Regions from separate parts of the Homo sapiens genome. Here region 2 is linked to region 1. Evidence: promoter capture Hi-C in 16 types of primary human blood cells and fetal thymus (Javierre and others, 2016). All regions are on one chromosome and are shown on one strand. Each heading gives the region's core, a stretch centred on a gene start or on the middle of the fragment in contact. The rest is flanking DNA. Distances are from core to core; before and after follow the strand shown.

Region 1 (3,408 bases), core at 266-2,765:
TTTGTACTTTTTATAGAGACAGGATCTCGCCGTGTTGCCAAGCTGGTCTTGAACTGCTGACCTCAAGTGATCTGCCTGCCTCGGCCTCCCAAAGTGCTGGGATTACAGGCATGAGCCACCATACCCGACCAACCACAGCATCTTTAATCCTCAACAACCCTATGAGATACATCCTGATTACTCCCATTTTACAGATGAGGAACCCGAGGCTTAAAGAGTCCTGAGGTCACCCCACCTACAAAGTCTGAGTTAGATCTGTTAGTGCCAGGCAAACTCTAGGCTTTTCCCACGGTGTCAGCTTTATCCCTAATTATTGGGCAGTCTAGGTGGGGCGCTTATGCCACTCCTCTTTCCCAGCTGTCCAAAAGCCCCACTGCTCTGTGCTGTAACATCTCATGGCAGGCACTATCAGAACTTTGCAGCTTCATTCCTGGGCTGCAGGGCAGGAGGGATGGTTGCTTCCTTTTCACAGGTTGGGGGAGGGGGAACAGGTGGCCTCACTTCTTTGGTAAATATTCCTTGACCATACACAGTCCTGAGCCCTCTGAGGGTGGGAGGCTGGGGAAACAGAGAAAAATGAGATCATGGTCTAGTGAGAGAGACAGACAAGCACCAAGTCATAACTGTGCAGGGTCATATATGCAGAGATGGGGGAAGTACAGGGCTGTGGGGACCAAGGAGTGAGGGGCTGCCCAGGGCCAGTCAGGGAGGCCAAGCCCTAGCTCAGCCCAGAGCAGGGCCCAAACAAAAGCCCAGGCTGAGAGCACATGGCCCAGCCAGACTCCCACTCCCAGGAGGCCACCAGTTGGGTGCAAAGTGCATGGCGCATTGGCAGGCCTGGGTCCCAGACCTGGTGCTGCCACGGCACAGCAGGGAGGGTGACCTTGGACAACTCCCATTCCCTCTCAGGTCCGTTTCCCCACCTGTACAGTTCGAGGTGGAGGAACAAAGGGTCTGTGCAGCCATGGCCCCTGGGGATCCCCCACTGCTCCCCTGCCATCATCTCTTTCCCACAGAACTTCCCGACGGAGGAGCTGACTACCAGAAGCCCCCAGTGGGTGTTAAATCACAAGCTACGCCTGGGAATGGGCCACTCCTCCTGTCTTCTGCCCTCTCCCACTCTCCAGGGCCCAGTACCTGCCCTTCTCACCATCTTTCATCAGGTCCCCATCACAGCCCGGTCCCAACCAGGACAAAGACCCTACCCATCCCTTTCTCACCTCCCCCATTCTTTGCCCAGACCCCTCCCTAGGCCTTGATCCTGCCCCGCCTCTAACCCCCAGATTCCAAGCGAGGAGTCTCAGCCCCTCCCCCACGACCCAGTCCCTGGCCCCCGCGCCTGCACCCCACCCCGCGCGCGTCTATCCCTGCCTGGCCGGGCTCTCACCGCGCCGCAGCTGCAGACGCAACGTCCCCAGCGCGAGGCCCCGGGCCCCCCAGCAGCCGCCGCGCCGTCACAGAGATGCTGCACAGCCGCGGAGCCATGTTGGAGCCGCAAAGGTTGCAGGAAGGCCCCGCCCCCAAGCCCTGGTGGCGGAGGCGGGGCGCGAATAAACTCCACCCCTCCGGCTCGCCCGCCCCCTCACTCACCCGGTCAGGTGGGCGTTTCCTGTGGGCGTCTCCAACTCCGCAGGTGCTGGACGGAAGTCAGGGTTCTAATCCTCTGCGCGCTCTGCGACCTTGGCAAGCCCTTTGCCCACTCTGGGCCTCAGGATCCACCTCGGTAAAATGGGAGCGTGGAACAATAATACCAAGGGTTCTTTTTTTTTTTTTTTTTTTTTTTGAGACGGAGTCTCGCTCTGTCGCCCAGGCTGGAGCGCAGTGGCGCGATCTCGGCCCACTGCAAGCTCCGCCTCCTGGGTTCACGCCATTCTCCTGCCTCAGCCTCCCGAGTAGCTGGAACTACAGGCGTCTGCCACCACGCCCAGCTAATTTTTTGTATTTTTAGTAGAAACGGGGTTTCACCGTGTTAGCCAGGATGGTCTCGATCTCCTGACCTCGTGATCTGCCTGCCTCGTGCTCCCAAAGTGCTGGGATTACAGGCGTGAGCCACCATGCCCAGCCTACCAAGGGTTCTTAACAAGGCTGTCCGGGATGTGCAGCAGAGGGTCAGTGTAACCACCCCATGGGTTCATTTTGCCCGTTTCCCAGACAGCGGATTTATCAAGACAGAGGAATTGCAATAAGAGTTTAATTCATGCAGAGCCGGCTGAATGGGAGACCGGAGTTTTATTATTACTCAAATCAGTCTCCCTGAAAATTCGGAGACTGGGTTTTATTAAGGATAATTTGGTGGGTAGGGGCCAGAGAGTGGAGAGTGCTGATTGGTCAGGTCGGAGATGCAATCATAGGGAGTGGAAGCCGTCCTCTTGTGCTGAGTGGATCTCTGGGTGGGGGCCACAAAACCGGATGATCCGGTTTCTTAATCTGTGTATCGCCAGCGGATCCATTGAGTGCAGGATCGGAAAAATATCTTGAGCACCAATCTTAGGTTTTACAGTAGTGATGTTATCCCTAGGAGCAACTGGGGAGGTTTAGAATCTGTGGCCACTACCTGCATGACTCCTAAACCGTAATTTCTAATCTCGTGGCTAATTTGTTAGTCTTACAAAAGCAGTCTGGTCCCCAGGCAAGAAAGGGGTTTATTTTGGGAGAGGGCTGTTATCTTTGTTTCAAAGTTGAACTATAAATTTGCTGCCGGGCATGGTGGCTCATGCCTGTAATCCCAGCATTTTGGGAGGCAAAGGTGGATCAGAAGTTTAGGTCAAGAGTTCAAGACCAGCCTGGCCAACAGGGTGAAACCCCGTCTCTACTAAAAATACAAAAAAATTAGCCAGGCATGGTGGCGGGCACCTGTAATCCCAGTTACTCGGGAGGCTGAGGCAGGAGAATCTCTTGAACCCTGGAGGCAGAGGTTGCAGTGAGCCGAGATCGCGCCACTGCACTCCAGCCTGGGCAACAAGAGCGAAACTCCGTCTCAAAAAACAAACAAAAAGACTGTAAGTTTGGCCTATGCCCAGGAATGAATATGGACAGTTTGGGGGTTAGAAGCAAAATGGAGTCGGTTAGGTCAGATCACTTTCACTGTCATAATTTTCTCACTGTTAAAATTTCTGCAAAGGGGTTGCATCAGTAAGCCCCCTGAAATTGTATACAACGTTACGTGCTCCTCTGTGGTGCATTCTCTGGGGAAAGGCATTCACATGCCAGGTTTATCACCATCAAAGAAACAAACTTCCTTACAAGTGAAGACAGGGGCAAGGCTGTCAGCTGCAGACACTTTATCTCCACCATCTCCTTTCCCCTTTTCATCCCCCTTTGACTTCTCTGCCTGAAAATCCTGGGGCCTCTTTCTGCCCTGCCCAGCTCTTTTGCCCGCCCTCTAAACTAATCCCTTCTCAGCCCACA
Region 2 (3,408 bases), core at 484-2,983, 520 kb after region 1:
TTATACTACAAGCTGTTTCTGGCCCCTTTTCTTCTCTTATTATAAAAACAAGTACCAGCCAGGCATGGTGGCTCATGCCTGTAATCCCAACACTTTGGGAGGCCGAGGCGAGTGGATCACCTGAGTTCAGGAGTTCGAGACCAGCCTGGCCAACATGGTGAAACACTGTCTCTACTAAAAATACAAAAATTAGTTGGGCATTATGCTGGGCACCTGTAATCCCAGCTACTTGGGAGGCTGAGGCAGGAGAATCACTTGAACCCAGGAGACAGATATTGCAATGAGCCAAGATCGTGCCATTGCACTCCAGCCTGGGTGACAAGAGCAAAACTTCATCTCAGAAAAACAAACAAAAACAAAAACAAAAACAAAAAACCCAAGTACCTAGGACTCAACAAGTTTTCAAAAATCTTATTTGTTTAAAAAGCTGGATTGTGTATCATGAAAATGGCCATACTGCCCAAAGTAAATTATAGATTCAATGTTATTCCCATCAAGCTACCATTGACTTTCTTCACAGAATTAGAAGAAACTACTTTAAATTTCATATGGAACCAAAAAGGAGCCCATATAGCCAAGAAAATCCTAAGCAAAAAGAACAAAGCTGGAGGCATCATGCTACCTGACTTCAAATTATGCTACAAGGCTACAGTAACCAAAACAGCATGGTACTGCTACCAAAATAGATATATAGACCAATGGAACAGAACAGAGGCCTCAGAAATAACACCACACATCTACAACCATCTGATCTTTGACAAACCTGACAAAAACAAGCATTGAGTAAAGGATTCCCTATTTAATAAATGGTGCTGGGAAAACTGGCTAGCCATACGCAGAAAACCGAAACTGGACCCCTTCCTTACACCTTATACAAAAATTAATTCAAGATGGATTAAAGACTTAAATGTAATACCTAAAACCATAAAAACCCTAGAAGAAAACCTAGGCAGTACCATTCAGGCCATAGGCATGGGCAAAGACTTCATGACTAAAGCACCAAAAGCAATTGCAACAAAAGCCAAAATAGACAAATGGGAACTAATTAAACCAAAGAGCTTCTGCACAGCAAAAGAAATTGTCATCAGAGTGAACAGGAAACATACAGAATGGGAGAAAATGTTTCCAATCTATCCATCTGACAAAGGTTTAATATCCAGAATCTACAAGGAACTTAAAACAAATTTACAAGAATAAAACAACCCCATCAAAAAGTGGGCAAAGGATATGAACAGACACTTCTCAAAAGAAGACATTTATGCAGCCAACAAACATATGAAAAAAAGCTCATCATCACTGGTCGTTAGAGAGATGCAAATCAAAACCACAATGAGATACCATCTCATGCCAGTTAGAACGGAAATCACTAAAAAGTCAGGAAACAACAGATGCTGGAGAGAATGTAGAGAAATAGGAATGCTTTTACACTGTTGGTGGGAGTGTAAATTAGTTCAACCATTGTGGAAGACAGTGTGGCAATTCCTCAAGGATATAGAACCAGAAATACCATTTGACCAAGTAATCCCATTACTGGGTATATATCCAAAGTATTATAAATCATTCTATTATAAAGACACATGCACACATATGTTTATTGCAGCACTATTTACAATAGCAAAGACTTGGAACCAACCCAAATGCCCATCAATGATAGACTGGATAAAGAAAATGTGGCACATATACATCATAGAAAACTATGTACCCATGAAAAATAATTAGTTCATGTCCTTTGTAGGAACATGGATGATGCTGGAAACCATCATTCTCAGCAAACTAACACAGGAACAGAAAACCTGTGTTATGTATGTTCTCACTCATAAGTGGGAGTTGAACAATGAGAACACATGGAAACAGGAAGGGGAACATCACACACTGGAGCCTGTAGGGGGGTGGGGGGCAAGGGAAGGAATAGCATTAGGACAAATACCTAATGCATGTGGGGCTTAAAACCTAGATGATGGGTTGATGGTTGCAACAAACCACCATGGCACATGAACAAACCTGCACTTTCTGCACATGTATTCCAGAACTTAAAGTATTAAAAAAAAAAAAAGCTGGATTGTGAATCTTGTTGACTTGTCACTAAAATAGGAACTGTCATTTGGAAAATAAACATAGAGAGCTACAAGTTGCCTTGTAAGATGTTATTTTTCAAAATCTAATTTTAAATTTCTTACATCTGTATTTAATGATATACCTTGGCCTCATTTCAGTCTAATTCTCTTGGTTGGGCATGGTGGCTCAGGCTTGTAATCCAAAGTGTAACCATAACACTTTGAAAGGCAAGGTGGGCAGACTGCTTGAGCCTAGGAATCCAAGACCAGCCTGAACAACACGGTGAAACCCTGTCTCTATAAAAAATACAAAAAATTAGCTGGCCATGGTGGTGAGTGCCTGTAATTCCAGCTACTCTGGAGGCTGAGGTGGGAGGATCATCTGAGCCTGGGGGGTTAAGGCTACAGTGAGCTGTGATTGCACCACTGAATTCCAGCTTGAGTGATACAGTGAGACTCTGTCTCAAAAAAAAAAATTATCTTAAGTAATGTAAGAGCATCAATAAAATGCATGTGTGCTATAAGCACATAAACATGATATTTGCAATCATGACAACCTCATTTGTATTATGACATCTTTTGGTCTATGAGATACAAACTTGTAATAGTGAATGTGTTTATATCTAACATATATTTGTAATTTTCCCTCTTGTCTAGAACATAGAATTGAGAAAGACATATTTTTGATAATAAGCACATATTGTGTGCCAGTCACTACCCTAGGCAACGGCAATGATACCATTCCCTATAGCTTTATTTTTTGTGACAGTTATTGTGGAAGTTTTATGTCTCCCTTTCAATGTTTGTTCTTAAAGTAATATACATCATAAAAATGCTTAATACTCCTGTGTCACTCTCTTGTAATTTCTGAATGTTATATCAACATGGGATAATTTTCATATCCCTCAATAGAGATACAGGTAACATCAATTTTAGTATAGGAAAACAATACGAAAAGGTGAAGTTGCTTATGCAAAATCACACATAAATCAGTGATTGATCTTGGACTACTTTAAACCAAAACTCTATTTATTTATTTTGAGAGGGAGTCTCATTTCATTGTCCGGGCTGGAGTGTGGCGGCATGATCATTACAGGATTACAGCTTCGACCTTCCAGCCTCAAGTGATCCTCCTGCCTCAGCTTCCTGAGTAGTTGGGAGTATAGGCATGTGCCACTATGCCCAGATAATTTTTTTAATTATTTTTTTTAGAGGTGAGGTTTCACTAGGTTGCCCAGGCTGGTTTCGACGTCCTAGGCTCAAGCAATCCTTCTGCCTCAGCCTCCCAAAGTGCTGGGATTACAGGTGTGAGCCACCACACCCGGCCTAAACCCAAACTCTTAATATGATATTC

Evidence for each region. Contacts are between HindIII fragments. The CHiCAGO score rates a contact against its expected background, and 5 or more counts as called.
Region 2: a fragment that was not itself captured here is called in contact with the fragment with the promoter of NIPSNAP1 in region 1 in 6 of 17 cell types (naive CD4 T cells, M0 macrophages, total CD4 T cells and 3 more); the score reaches 7.4 in naive CD4 T cells.

Annotation. Positions count from the first base shown.
Region 1 is chr22:29,579,598-29,583,005 of GRCh38, forward strand. NIPSNAP1 (nipsnap homolog 1) reads right to left here and starts at 1,516. Exons shown (of 10, transcript NM_003634.4): 1 at 1,388-1,516. The coding sequence starts at 1,485. RefSeq lists an enhancer at 677-1,289 and a silencer at 1,273-1,322. The HindIII fragment of the contact is 18,053 bases long and covers 1-3,408 here.
Region 2 is chr22:30,099,549-30,102,956 of GRCh38, forward strand. All of the region lies in intron 3 of HORMAD2 (HORMA domain containing 2), which reads left to right. Among named protein-coding and RNA genes, the nearest start is that of HORMAD2, 21 kb to the left of the region's middle. The HindIII fragment of the contact is 7,543 bases long and covers 1-3,408 here.